Regions from separate parts of the Homo sapiens genome. Here region 1 is linked to region 2. Evidence: promoter capture Hi-C in 16 types of primary human blood cells and fetal thymus (Javierre and others, 2016). All regions are on one chromosome and are shown on one strand. The core of a region is centred on a gene start or on the middle of the fragment in contact, and the rest is flanking DNA. Distances in the headings are between cores, read along the strand shown. Region 1 overlaps LOC124905026 (a long non-coding RNA gene). Region 2 holds the start of SIK1 (salt inducible kinase 1).

Evidence for each region. Contacts are between HindIII fragments. The CHiCAGO score rates a contact against its expected background, and 5 or more counts as called.
Region 1: a contact is called between a fragment that was not itself captured here and the fragment with the promoter of SIK1 in region 2, in 2 of 17 cell types (naive B cells and total B cells). The highest score is 7.1, in naive B cells.

The regions. Positions count from the first base shown.
Region 1 is chr21:43,305,996-43,312,910 of GRCh38, forward strand. LOC124905026 (a long non-coding RNA gene) reads right to left here. Exons shown (of 2, transcript XR_007067887.1): 2 at 5,050-5,882. Among named protein-coding and RNA genes, the nearest start is that of LINC00322, 23 kb to the right of the region's middle. RefSeq lists enhancers at 1,008-2,207, 1,615-1,714, 2,431-2,936, 5,039-5,539, 5,540-6,040. The HindIII fragment of the contact is 2,119 bases long and covers 2,756-4,874 here.
Region 2 is chr21:43,425,881-43,432,952 of GRCh38, forward strand. It overlaps SIK1 (salt inducible kinase 1), which reads right to left and starts at 1,251. Exons shown (of 14, transcript NM_173354.5): 1 at 1,130-1,251; 2 at 143-312. The coding sequence starts at 298. It overlaps LOC124905029 (a long non-coding RNA gene), which reads left to right and starts at 3,704. Exons shown (of 3, transcript XR_007067891.1): 1 at 3,704-7,072. RefSeq lists a silencer at 4,849-5,143. The HindIII fragment of the contact is 3,848 bases long and covers 1-3,408 here.

The DNA.
Region 1 (6,915 bases), core at 2,565-5,064, 120 kb before region 2:
GGCTGCCCCCTCTGCATCTTCCTGCGGGCAAAGGACATTTGCAGCCACGGTGCTGGGGAGCCAAGGAGATGCCGCGATGCAGCCACCCTGGGCCCTGCAGTGGTGCAGATGAACCACCTTGTGAGCAAGTGAAGAGGGGATGGGTGAGCCCACCCACAGCAAGGGGAGAAGGAAGTCCCCACTCACGCGGACACCGAGAGATCCTGCCCAGTCACCACTGCAAGGCCAGGAGTGGGGACCTGCAGTGCCCGGGTCCCTGTCCAGTCCGTAGGGCAGCTGGAGGGGGGTGGGGCAGGGAAACTGTCAAAGTACAGCAGTACAAACCTGGCCAGAGCCCACTGTGCGAATGCCCATTGGGACTTCGTGGGCCTCGGGGGCCTGAGGCTCAGTGGAAGAGAATTAAGACTTTTCTCAAAGTAGAAAAGGAAGAGGAGAATTCCTTTCCTTTCCCTCCTCCAGGGGGTGGAGGCATAAAGGGACCCCCAGGCAGGCACAGCCCGGGGGCCACGCATGCACCCTTCATTCCTCCACTGGCTGACAGTGTGTGCATGAGCGTGGATGGAGCGAGTGCTGCCCTCCGTGTAGGGGAGCCCTCCCAAGAGCACCCCACAAGCCAGGGAGCCCCAAGCAGCCCCCAGCGGGTCTGGGATCCGGTCCTGGGTAAGCGTACTGTGTCTCCTAGAGCATTTTTTAGGGGTGGCCGGAGGGACAGGCATGGGGAAGAAGTGAGCCTGTTCTCGGAGCTACCCCCCATCATCCAGAGGCATACAGGACAAGGCGCCCCTCCTCCCTCCACCAGCCCCACCCAGAAGCCCCTGAAGGCAGCATCAGGCACCCCAAGGATGAGGTTGGCTGCTGAATCTCCAGCGGTGACAGCTTGGTCTTCCAGCAAAATCTCCAGGTCCCAAGGAGTTCCAGCAGTATCCTGAGACCCCCTAATGCAGCGTGCCTGCCCTCGCCCATGATGGCCTGGTTGTCAAAGGGCGAGGCCAGCCCAGCATCACCCACAGCAGTGCATCCATGGAAACACACTCCTGGGGAATTAAAGACGGGTGTCACGTGCTCCCAGTCGGGCCAGGATGGAAAGGGTCTTCTCATCTTTCCAGTTGGTGCAATGACAGCCAATTTCGACATGAGCAGGTGCGCAGGAAGCAAGGGCAGCACCGGCCCAGGAGGGCCTGGTGATGTGTACGGTTATTATTGGAAGTGTGATGGCAGTCGGGAGTGCAGGGCCATGAGTCACACCCAAGGTGACCTTGAGTCATGCATCTGCCCGGCTCTTGGGCCTCGGGCTAACCAGCTCCCCGCCTCCTCTCCACACAGGAGACCACAGAGAGGTTTTCCGAGCCTGGCTGCGGGTGGGGCAGCCCCACCAAGTGTCTGGGGCCAGCGGCTCCCCAGTGTTCTCCTAAGCCTGTAACTTCCCTGGGGATCCCTGGGACTCGCTGTCTCAGACAGAGCCTCACCCACCTCGGAGCTGGTTCTCCTGATACCACAGGGCCCAAGGGTATCGTGGCTGCCAGGGTGGGGCAGGACCAGAAACTGAACTGGCTGTACTCAAGAATGCAAATGGCGTGAGAATAGGGAAGGGTGCCGGCCACAGTGACACTGGCAGCTGCGTCCTGCCCACACAGCTGGCATGGGAATTCCCCACCTGGAGCACACGCTGCTCATGTCTTAGTTGAGGAAGGGATAAGGGGCTAAGGAGGGGGTGTCCCTGACCAATGGGACCTGGGGTCTAACCTGACCCACAGGATGGCTGCTCTGTCCACCCCAGCCCTGTGGACATCTCTTGCCCACCCAGCCATGGCAAAAATGAGGAGCCCCCGACCATGGTGACCCTGTCTGCCAGCCCCAAATTTGGGACTCAGAGTTGGACAGGCCAGAGTGCGGAGGAACACCAGCCCCCTGGAAGCCCCCTGGAATACGAAGCCGTCACCGCTGAGATCATCCCTAAGTGCCTGCTGATCACCCCTCCCTCCTCCAGACGGAAGGAAATCCTACAAAGGAAACACACGTATCAGACTTTCTACACCTCCCAGCTAGACTCTCTTTCACCATGGGCTAACACCACAGAATGACCTTACAGGTTCTAGAAACATGGACATCCGCCCCAGGGCTTTGATTGGGGAACGGAGCCCCTGCTTTTCTAGAGTGAATTTTTTGAGCAGCTTGCAACCTCTGTCAGTAATTTGTCTCTTATTCTGGAGGGTGCCAGGCAGGAGGAGACGGTGGGCTTCCTGCTGATCCAGGCCCACCCTTTGCGGATAAGATGAGGCCTTCCCTGCTAGTGGGAGCCAGGCCTATGGGGCGGGGACAGCCTGGGCCCTCCCAGGGAGTGTAGAGGAGGAGGATGTGCTGGAAGGATGGCACCCCAGCCCGGAAGGACCCCCGCCCAGGACAGCCAGGCCTCTTGCCACAGGGGACACTTATGCCCCACACAGAAAGCACCCCGTTTCTCAGGGCTTCTCATGGGCAAAGTAACCCCAGAGACCCTGGAATGAAACTCATGCGTCTGTGAAATAAGACCAGGATTAAGCATCTGATGAGATTGTGTTGGTGGAAAAGGTCGGTAAAGAGGGTGTGAGCTTGGTGCTGCCCTGGTGAAGGAAAAACCTACCCAGAATTACTGTGGGTCACATAGGCCGGGTGAGCAAAGCCAGAGGCTTTTCCAGACCCCCTCTGGCTGGGTCTCCTTGGAGGGCGAGTGGATGGGAGGGGCAGGGAGGCCTGCAGGGATTGCCTCCAAGTGAGAAGCTTGGCCAGGCCGCAGATCCAGGCAGCTGGTGTTTTACTTTACTTATCTCTTCTCTCCTTTTTTTTTTCTGTTTAGTTTTTTCTAACACTTTTCTGTCTACTTTCAACAAGTTAAAGAACTTTTTGTTTTATTTATTTATTTATTTTCCTGTGGTAAAATATGCATAAGATAAAATTTGCCATTTCAGCCATTTTTAGGTGCACGGTTCAGTGGCATGAAGCATATCCACATTGTTGTCAGTCATCACCACCACGCATCCCCAGAACGTTCCATCCTCCCAAACTGAAACCCCATCCCCATTGAACACTCCCTCCCCATGCCCCTCCTCGGTCCCCAGCACTCACCGTTCCACCTCCGGTCTCTACGAACCAGACTCCGCCAGGGACCTCATACAGGTGGAACCACCCGGTGTCAGTCCCTGTGTACCTGGCTTATTTCACTCAGCATCATGTTCTCAAGGTCGGTCCTTGCTGTGGTGTGTGTCAGGATGTCACTCAGCATCATGTTCTCAAGGTCTGTCCATGTTGTGGCGTGTGTCAGGATGTCACTCGGCATCATGTTGTCAAGGTTGGTCCTTGCTGTGGCGTGTGTCACGATGTCCTTGCTTTCTGAGGCCAGATCCTATTTGGCATGCATAGACCATCTTTTGCCTGCTCACGCCTCTGTCCATGGGCCCTTGAGTGGCTTCCATCTGTCGGCTGCTGTGAATAAACCTGCTGTGAACATGGGTGTACAAATATCTCTTTGAATCTCTGCTTTCAATTCTTTTGGGTATATACCCAGAGAAGAAATTGCTGGATCACGTGGTAATTCGATGTTTAACTGTTTTGAGGAGCTGCCATACTTCACAAGTTTTTGAAGGTTTAGGGTTTCTTTGGGAGTTTCCGTTATATTTTTTTTAATAGTGTCACAGAACTAATTTTGATGAAAAACACTCATTCTCTATCTTCTCATTCTGGGGGAATAAATTAGTGTGATTTGAATATAATGTAATTGCATGCAAATCCAGCCACAAAACCGGGCGCTGCGCACTGGCAGAGGGTCAGGAGTTGTGCCACCTTGCTAGGGAGGAAGGAGGGTGTGTTTCCATGATATGCCAGCGGTCGGTCCTCTTAAAAGGGTGTGTATTCTCTTGCTGACTGTTTAGAATTGGCAAGATGTGGTAATAATAGTTGGTTTTACTATCATTTTTAGATTCTTTACAGGCATCACACTCCCTGATTGTCTTGTTCCCTCCTATTACACTACACACCTGCTATACCACTGATCATAGCTATAGATGCCTAGGACTGTAACTGATACAACAACAAAGCTACAAATGGCTCCAGGCCCGGATAGTTTCACAGGCCATTCCACCACACTGTTAAGGAACAGATAATATTTAAATGGATGCAAAGCATAAATAAGGAAAGAAAATTTCTAAATTCTCTTTATGAAGCTACCATAAGAATGATGCCAAAACCCAAAGAGACAAGCACAGAAAGAAAATCATAAGCCAATCTTATGAATGAACACCAACACAAAAATGTGAATTAAATTGTCTAAAAACTGTAAGCCATGACCTAGGAGACTTGAAGATGGTTTGATATTAGGAAATATCTTAAAATAGGTCTTCACATTCATAGAGCCTATAAAATTGCAGTAGTTGGGACATGGACCCCCTAGTCGGACAGCAAAGAAATTAGGCAGAGGAACCAAAAATGGATCCAAACACACCCACCTAGTTAGGACATAGGAGAGGTGATTTTTGCCTATCAGTGTGATGAATTCCAGTTGTTCAGAAGACACCAACTGAATTACAACTAAATAGTTTTCTAGAAAAAAATAAAATTGCATTTCTACTTTATTCCCTAAGGCCTCCATATGTTACAGCTACAGCAGATATTTTTATAAAGTTGGAAACCATAAACATACTAGAAGAAAACAGAGAGCCATTTCCTTTACTAGTTTTAGAAGGAGAAGATCTTCTGAAATAGAACACAAACTCAGAAGCCATAAACATGGATTAAAAGAAATAATAATAAAGTTAAAAATGTTTGCCTGGTGAAAAACACAACCACCATAAACAAAGACAGGTGAGAAATGAAATAGTATCTGCAATGCAAGGCACAGGAAAAGCTTCATTTGGTTCATACATAAAGAAGTTCTAGAAATCAATGCAATGAAGACCAACAAAGTGATAGAAAATGGGCGAAGTACAAAAACAGTTCACAAAACAGAAATGTGAAGGCTGTTAAACATATGGAAAGATACACACACTAATGGGAAAAAAGAAAGAATGCAAGTTAAAATCAGAATGTAAGACTGTTTTTAATCTATCCGACAGCCAAAGACAAAAGCATGAGAACCCTCTGTCAGTGAGGAGTAGGAGAGAGGCTCCTAACCGATTACTGGTGTGAGCAACTTGTGATGCCTTCTTTGAAATAGGTATAGAAACGTAGAGTGCACACACCCAGCAGCTCTGCAGATAGGTGCACACAAGTGCTAAATAACATATGCACAAGTCTACTGACACAGCTTTACCTGCAAGTTGTCAAAAGCTGGAAACTGCTCCAACATGCCCAGATAAGAGTCTGGAGAAATAAATCATGCTACACCCAGACAGTGGGATTCGTGTCAGGCAGCTGTTAAAAAGCGGGAGGTGGCTTTATGTGCAGCAATGCACAAATTACTGCTTAAAGCAGGAAGCCAGGTGCAGCATGCAGAACACTCCCTGGGCAGCAGCACCTCTGGAGAGGTGCGTGAGTGCCTGGGGCTGCCATAACCAAGCACCACAAACCGCCTGGCTTAAAACCTATCCTCTCACAGTGCTGGGGCCAGAAGTCCAAAGTCACAGTGGCAGCTGCACCACGCCTCCTCTGAGGCCTCCCAGGGAGAACCCGTTGCTTATTCCAGCTCCTGGTGGCTCCAGGTGGCCTCTGCCTCCATCTTCACATGACTCCTCCCTGTGTGTATCTTCTCCCCCTCTCTTCTAAGAACACTGTCATTGGATCCGGGCCCGCTCCAATTCAGGATGACCTCACCAGAAGGTCCTTAATGACATCTGCACAGATCTTTTTTCCAAATTCAGTCACATTTATAGGTTCTGGGTGGATGCATCTTTTAGGGGCTCACTATTGTCTCCCTAAAAGAAAGAAGCGGAGGCAAAATTAATCTAAGTGGAGAGTTTATTTGGGCCAAGCTTGAGGATTGCAATAGATTCCATTTGCCCTGGATCTACACTCTGATGAGCAGCAGTTCACGTGGCTTGTAAAGGAAAGTGGGGGTCAGGGAGTCGGCTGATACCAAGTTTTCTATCAGGAATTCTCATTAGTTTACAGAAATAGCATTGATGAGTGATTGGCTGTATGTTGTTAAGATATAGGGTGTGGGTTACGGTGTCCAGTGGGGCATTACTGGGTTAATCCGTAGCTACTTGTGGCAACAGGAAGCAGTTTCCAGACATGAACACACAGCTCAAAGCAGGGAGCAGGGTGTGACCACTGTCTCATTTTAAGGTCTCTCTGCGCCTGATAATTAAAAGCACTCACATTCCACAGGCAAAACTTTTTTTCTCACCATTTAAACCATTACTGCTGGAAACAGAGGTAAGGAAGAGATCATGGCCTGCCCTCTGAGATTTTATACCATGCCTGGAATGACCTATTATCAAAATAAGTAGCTGGAGCTATTCCATGGCAATGAGGAGGTCTGTGCATAAACTGTCTCCCAGTGGAGGACCGGCCACACCCACACCCTCCCATGCTAAGGACGGGCCCAGAGCCCTTGAGGGGCACCTTGACCCCCCAACACCACTCTGGAGCTGGGCTTCCTGTCTGCTTGCTGCTCTTATATCATAAGTAGAGAGATCATCTCTTTCTCTCTCTCTCTCTGTCTATATATATATATATAAATTAAATCTCTTATTTCTAACAGTGCAAAATTCTTTATTAATGCCAACATTTTTCCACTTTATGGTAACTCACTCATCTATTATTTTAGTTGGCCGCCCCACTCCATAAACACACACACACAGGCGCGCTGGCCAGGTGAGGAAACCACAGGGCAGTAGCAGGTGTGGGGACAGGCACCCAGTAGGTGGGGCAGGTGCCCTCCTCCCTCCGTAACAGGCGGGTCCAGGAACAGCTATGCTTTTCTGGCTCCCACTCAACTCCCCC
Region 2 (7,072 bases), core at 1-2,500:
GAACTAAAAACGGTTACTATTTACCCACCACGACAATCAAGCCTGGAGCAGTGAATCTGCATGGGGTCCACCCGCCAAAGGTCGGGTCGCCCCGGGTCCAGTGGGGAGGCCCCGCCGGCTGGGTCCCACCGCCCCCACGCACCTGCGTTTTGGTGACTCGATGCCGCGCCAGCTTCACCACCGCGAAGTTGCCTTTGCCCAGGGTCCGCTCGATGTCGTAAAAACCCACCCGGAGGGGCTTCTGCTGGCCCTGACCCTGGCCCGCGGGGTCCGCGCTGAACTCCGACATGATAACCATGGCTCCGCGCGCACCTGCGGGGCCGCACAGAGCTCAGAGCCCACCAGCGCCCCCGCCGCCCGCGGTCGGCTCCATCCGTGCCCGCGGAGCCCCCAGTCCCCACGGGACGCAGGGACCTGCTCCCACGCCTGTCGCCCCCACTCTATCCACGGGCCCCTCCAGCCCCGTGGGAGGTGTGGACCCGCCCCCGCCGCCCGCTCCACCCGGACCCCCGACCCTCTTGAGCCCCGCGGGGCGCACGGACCCGCTCTCATAGAGGCCCCTGCCGCCCGAGTCCGGTTCCGTCCCGATCCCGGGACCCCCTGAGCCGGGATTCCACACTCGCCTCCCGCCGCCCGCTGTCGGTTCCGTCCCCACCCTCGACCCCTTTAGCACCTCTGGGCGCGGACCCGCTCCCACACCTGGCCCTGCCACCCGAGGTCGGCTCGATCCGGATCCCAGGACCGTCCCCTGCCCCGCTCCCACACCCTGCCCCCGCCGCCCGCGATCCGTCCGGTCCCCACCCCCGACATCCCAGGCACCTCGGGGATCGCGGACCCGCCCCCCACACCCGGTATCTCCGCCCGCGGTCGGCTCCAACCTGACCCCCGGCTCCCCAGCCCCTGAGCCCCGCGGACTCACTCCTACCCCGGCCCCCCAACAAAGGGGAGCCCGAGGGCGGCCAGGCCGCCAACCCCGCCCGCGAACCCCGCGCGCGCAAGGCCAGGGACCCTGCGCGGTGGCTGCAACCCCGAGCCCCGGCCCGGCGCCCGCGCGGAGCCCCCACGGCGGCCACCTCCGCCCGCCCGGAGCCCGCCGCTGCCGCCGCTGCCGCCGCTGCCGCCGCCTCACCTCCGCCGCCACCGGAGCGCCCAGGCCAGGAAGCCGCCCGCTCGGCCGCTGGCGCTGCTCGGGTGCCTACTGCTCCGGCTGCCGCCGCCGCTGCTGCTGCCTCCGGGGCCGCGCCGCATGTCAGCCCGGAGCCGCCGCGCTCCGCCGCACGCGGCGCCCGGCCCCGCCCCGGCCCGCCCCGGCCCGCCCCCCGTAGTCCCCGCCCCCTGCCCCGCCCCCGCCGCCCGGGCGGGGGCCGCCCATTGACGTCGCTTTGACGCCAGAGCGACGCGCGGCCGAGCGCCGGGCGGAGGGAGAGCGGGAGATCGGGCGGTTGCCAAGAGACTGGCGGCTCTGACGCGCGCGGGATGAGGCCGTTGCCCTGGCGACCGCGGGCCGGTGACGTCAGGGGCGCCCGCCGCCCGAGGCCCGCCCGCCTGCGCTCCGCCGGGCGCCCCCTCCCGGGCGCTGGGGGCACTGCGGGCGGCCCCACCGCCGAGGGCGCGCCCGCCCCTCCACGCTCGGGCACTCGGGCCGGGTCCCGCGGGCGCCTTGTGCTCGCTCCCTCCAGGAGGGGACGGCTCTCGGGCAGGGGTCGCCGGCCCCTCCACGCGGCCTGCGTTCGTCCAGACTCAGAGCCTCGGGACGTGCGGGGGCCCGGGGGCCTCGCGGGCTCGCGCGTGGGGCTGGCGGCGCGGATGCCCTGGGGCGCTGCAGACCCCGAGAGGCCGCTTGCCCGCGGGGACGTCAGCCGCTTTTGCTGTTAAAATCTGAAATGTTCAGCAAGTTAGAAACTTGAAACCTAAGGAAGCGTGACCGGCCGCTCTGGAAGCCCCCGCCGCGCGGCCGGTCCCGGCCCCGGCCCTCAGCGGCGCTGGCGTCTGCGCGTCCCGGGGCTGCCCCCGCAGCATGTGGGGCTGGGACCCTCTTCCCGCGCGGGCCCCGGGCGGACGCTGCGGGCGGTGACGGAGCCAGGCCGGCCGCCTGGGTAGGGGACGGGGGCGCGGGACCACTTGCTTGCCCGTGGCCGATGCCTCATCCGAACGGAAAACGTTTTCTTCAGGGGAGACAGAGGCTGTGGGCGAAGGTATTTTTTAAGCCTGAGGACCCATTTGGGAGTTAGATTCTGGATCGAGCCTAGGGTCAGTTTTCCTTGTGTTAAATAACACTACTTCACAGAAGGGGGAACGAGAATTCAGGGGAGTTGGCACAAAACTTGGAACCCTTCTCGGGAGGCTTTCCTGCCTGGACGGACGCCTGGGAGGAGGGCCCGGAGAAACGAGGATGAGCTTCTCCTCATTCGCCCGAGGGTCTGACCACAGATTTCCCAATCGCCACACACACACACACACACACACACACACACACACACACACGGGTTGTTTGGGAGTCAGTTGGTTTTCAAAGGCTTTCAAGGAAATGAAGAGTCCCAAAGTTTTCCTTAATCGTTCAGAGTGTTTTTCTTTGTCCCAGGTTTATATACCAAGAATACGGGGGAATATTTTTAGTTCCTTTCAGCTGAACAGTGTACAACTGCCTTTTTTCCTTTTGGAGGTCCCAACACCCTGTTAATCCGCTCCTAGGAGAACTAAACAAAAACAAGGCTGGACGTCGTGTCTCCCGCCTGTAATCCCAGTGCTTTGGGAGGCTGAGGCAGGAGGATCAGTTGAGCTCAGGAGTTTGAGACCGGCTTGGTTAACATAGCAAGACCTCACCTCTATAAAATACTTTTAAAATAGCCAGGTGTGGTGGCACACGCCTGTGGGGCCGGCTACTTGGGAGCCTGAGGTGGGAGGATGGCGTGAGCCTGGGAGGTTGAGGCTGCAGTGAGCTGTCATTGCACCACTGCACTCCAGCCTGAGCAAGAGAACAAGGCCCTGTCTCAAAAAAGAACAAAGATAAAAGGCGGGGTGGGGGAGAAACCAGGCCCCTGATCACACTCACCATTCAGTCCCTCAGCCTGTGACTTGAAATACTGCCCCCCGCATCCAGGAAGCAGGCTTCCCCACCCCTCCCACCCTAGCCAGAGTCTTCCAAAAGGTCTTAGGTATTTGCAAACACCTGGCTGGCTGTTTGGAAACATTGCATCAGCACCAAATAAAAACTGCAGCCAAAACTGCCTCCGCAGAACAGGTCCCCAAACTCAGGTGCACTTGACCTTTCACCCTGACCCAGCCCTGAGCTTCCAAAACCCAGAACAGCCCTGTGCCAACCATGGCCATCCTGTTTTCCCTTCCCTGGGCCCGTGGGCAAGGAGCTCGCTCTGCAGAGAAAGGCAGGAAGCACAGAGGAAAAGGCCAAGCTTGGAACGGCTGTCCCGTCTCCCCACTGGGGGAACCCCTGGCACCCTCATAACTAAGTCTGTGCTTCAACCTGGTCTCTGTTACCCAATGTCTTTTGTTGTTGTTTGTGTCCTTGACCCCCCGAGGCTGTATTTCCTCTCAGAAGCTTTGATTTCTTTTCTGTTTTCTGGTCTTCCGTGCCTTTAACACGAGGAAAAATAAAACACATGGTGTGAGTGTAAGGATGGTACAAGCAAATGATTGGAGAAGCTCCTCACTGAACATAATGGAAGGAATGCTCCCAAAGTCTGCAGGAACGGTACTTTATTATTATGGTTTGCATATTATTACAGATTTGTGGAAAACGGCAAGTCAGTTTTCCTTTCCACATGGACTTTCTTCAGCTTGTCTTATGATTGCCGTGTTTCTGGAGTTCATCTTGTTTTTTAGGCCTTAAGACTGGAAACCCCAACAGGAAATGGGTCCATTTATTATTCATAGTTGTAACGCTGGCCACTGGCATGTCACAAAACTCTCAAAATCAATTGATAAACACAGAGAATGGAGCGTGGGGCAGCATTTTTGCAAAGGGATGGGTGCCCAGCTGGCCCCAGTGCCGCCCTCTGTGAGGAAGGAATCTCCCAGTGCAGCCAGGAGTCAGACGAGTTCCTCTTCCCGACCCTACCCTCCCATCTTCGACGCCTAAGGCCCTTCCCTGTCTTCCTGGCTTTGCTTCAGGTGGTTTTGTACTTTTTAAATTTTGTTTTGGTTTGTTTAGGCTTCAGCCTAGCGGCTTTAGGTGCCAGAAAATCAGATTAACCACTGCAGCGGCATCCTTCTCAGGGACCCGGGGGCCACGTTGGTCATTTTGCCCCATTGTATCTGGAGAGCTTGACAGACAGACATGTGTGCACTAGGTCAGGAAGCCACGGCCCTGGCCTGGGAAGAGGGCAGGTAGGAGAAAAGCCCCCAGCCCCCTCCACCCTCAGGGAATGGCCCAGTTGTCCACAGGTTAAGTCAAGAATCCCCCGCGAACAGGTCAAACCAGAGACTGCCCAGTCCCAGCGTCCGCCCCCAGGGCATTGCTTCCTTCACCTCCTACACTTGGCTCCCTGTGGTTCCGTGGCTGCCACAGTTGTGTGGATCCTACCGGGCCCAGGGCCCCTCCCCATCTCAGACAGCACCCACTTTCAGGCTAGGCCTTCCACGGGCTGCTTAAATGGACCACGAAGGCCGGCAAAGCAGCAGAAACGTGCCTGTTCACGGGCCAGTCGGCCCTCCCCGCTCCAGCCCTCTAGGGTTTCTGGTTCCGGTTTCTGTCGCTGCCGTTAGTGAGGAATTATTCATGTGGCCAATGCGTTTTCTTGACATTTAAGCAGGGCTGTGGCCGATATCAAGGCTGAGGACCCAAGAGGCCTTTGGGTGTCTGTGTCCCTGAGCCATATGCTGAGGTCGGACGGCGGGGGAGGGGGGTGCAGGAAGGGGCCAGCCCCAGCGAGAGTCAGCCAGGCCCCAAACAGAGCCAGGGGTTCCCCCGGGGGGGAGTGCTCACTTAGGAAGAGCACCATGGACAGCCTGGCAGGAGGTCACCCTGTGCTGAGCAGGCAGCGCTGGAGTAAACCACCTGCCTCTCTGTAGGAAGAAGGAAACCGCATCCGCAAACGGAGCAAAGGTCCCCAGAGGCAGAGCAGAAGCCTCTGGGATGCTGCAGCTTTGTGCAGACACTGGGGACCAGGACTGGAGCAGGTGCTGGCCGTGCTCTTTATCCTGGGCACTCTGCCAGGGCCACACGGAGCGTGGCTCCCGGGAGATGGAGACGTCTGAGTGTCAGCTCAGGTCTCGGTGTTTCCAGGTGACATGCTGGCTGCTAGTGTAGAGCATGGTAAACCATCTTTTTTTTTTTTGGTTACTATTTACTTATGCAAAATAATGTGAGTTTCTGCCATTTGCAACAAGTGTGCCAGCTGCAATGAGTCAGCGGGTGGACACAGGTGAGCATGGCCAGACTGTGCCAGAACATGGTGACAGACAGACATGCTTCGAAGTTCACTGTGGGAAGGGACAGGTCCCCAGAGAGAGGTGAGACGGTGCAACGCGAGGGTGAGTTCGGAGTCATCCTCCAGATGTCCACAAAGGCTCGAGAGGCCCTGCTGTGTGTCAGGCACTGCGTGAAGGTTGTGGGCACAGTAGGAGGGACACAAGACACCTTCTCTCGAGGACCGTTGGTTCCAGTTGCGGAGACAGTAACAGCATAAGATGATGAGTAAGAAAAGAATGCTGGCAGGAAAGTGGCCATGGAGGGAACTGCTTCCGGGCCTCTCCGTGGGATTTGCCAGGCGTGGACTGAGCGAGGACCTTCCCTGAGAACACCAACTGCTCCAGGAGAGAGAAGAGGTGGAGCCCCGGCGGGGGGCATGGGGCAGGAGGCAGCCACCCACACCTTCCCTCTCTGAATGCTGAGCAGAGGCTCTCAGCAGAGGGGAAGAAGAGCAGAGGCCACGATTGGGAAGACAGACCCAGTGGGGGTCCTTGGCGCCGTCCACATCCATCTGCAACCTGCTGCCCAGCGCCTGCCTGCCCGGGGTGTGCACAGAGCAGTGTGGTCTGTCCCGGCTTCACGGCCTGACACGGCCAGGCGAGGATGACAGGGAAAGGGAGGCAGGGACTTGGGGCTGTTGGAGCCAAGCTGAGGAGCAAGGAGCTGCGATGGGAAGCGGGTGGCAGGAAGGAGCGTGAGGCCTGTGGGTGGAAGGTCTCTGGCCTTGGAGATTGAAGCGTTTCACTTGTGCATCTCACAGCCCAGAGAAGCCAAGCCCGGACCATGGGGGAGAGAGGAGGACCCCCGTCTCAGGGCGGGCTGAGGAGACGCTCTCTCCACGGCTTCCGGATGGGTCTCCCTCCATCTCAGCTGCATCTATGGGAAAACGATGAAATGCTCCCTCCACTGCCGGGCCTTCTCTTATAAAGCAGGTTTCTTCGAAGTATAAAAATTAATAGAAAAGGTTCCATAGAAAATCAAGAAAGTAAGTATGTAAAGATGAAAACAAAAAGCACCGGAAATGCTCTTCATAGCTGACGTTTTCTTATTCACTTTTTATTAAAACAGGATGAGGCGTCCTGCCTTTTCCAGCCTTATCTAGGAAGTGTCTTGCCAGGTCACCAAATGGCAAGCAGAACCGTAAGCTGAAGTTGTCTGCCTAGAATTCCACTGTGGCAATGTTCAGCATCCCGACTGGACAGCTCCGTGCGGCGGCATCGGGGGCGCGGCGGCATCGGGGGCGCGGCAGCATCGGGGGCCCTTTTCATGCCATTCAAGGCCCCGTGGAAACAGACACCACAGCTCAGCATGAGACTGTGGCCCCACCTGACCTGGCTCATCCATCCCCAGCCTCTCGTGGTCCCCGGCCCTATGCCGACATTTGGCACTCGATGAGCCATTTCTCCACATTTCAGGAGCCTTGTTTTAAGACAGCCTGGCTGTCTGAGAGCCACCGGAGTCGAGACTGGATGCCCGGCCTGGTGCCCGTGGGCCAGCACCGCCTGAGGAGGAGGGGTCTCTGGAGGCCACAGGCAGAGCCACTGAGAGGGATCTTTAAGCAGAGGGCCCCACACACCTCCTGGGACCCACGGGTGTGGCTGCCATGCAGGGTCTGGGAGCTACAGAGAGTCGGGAACCAAGGGC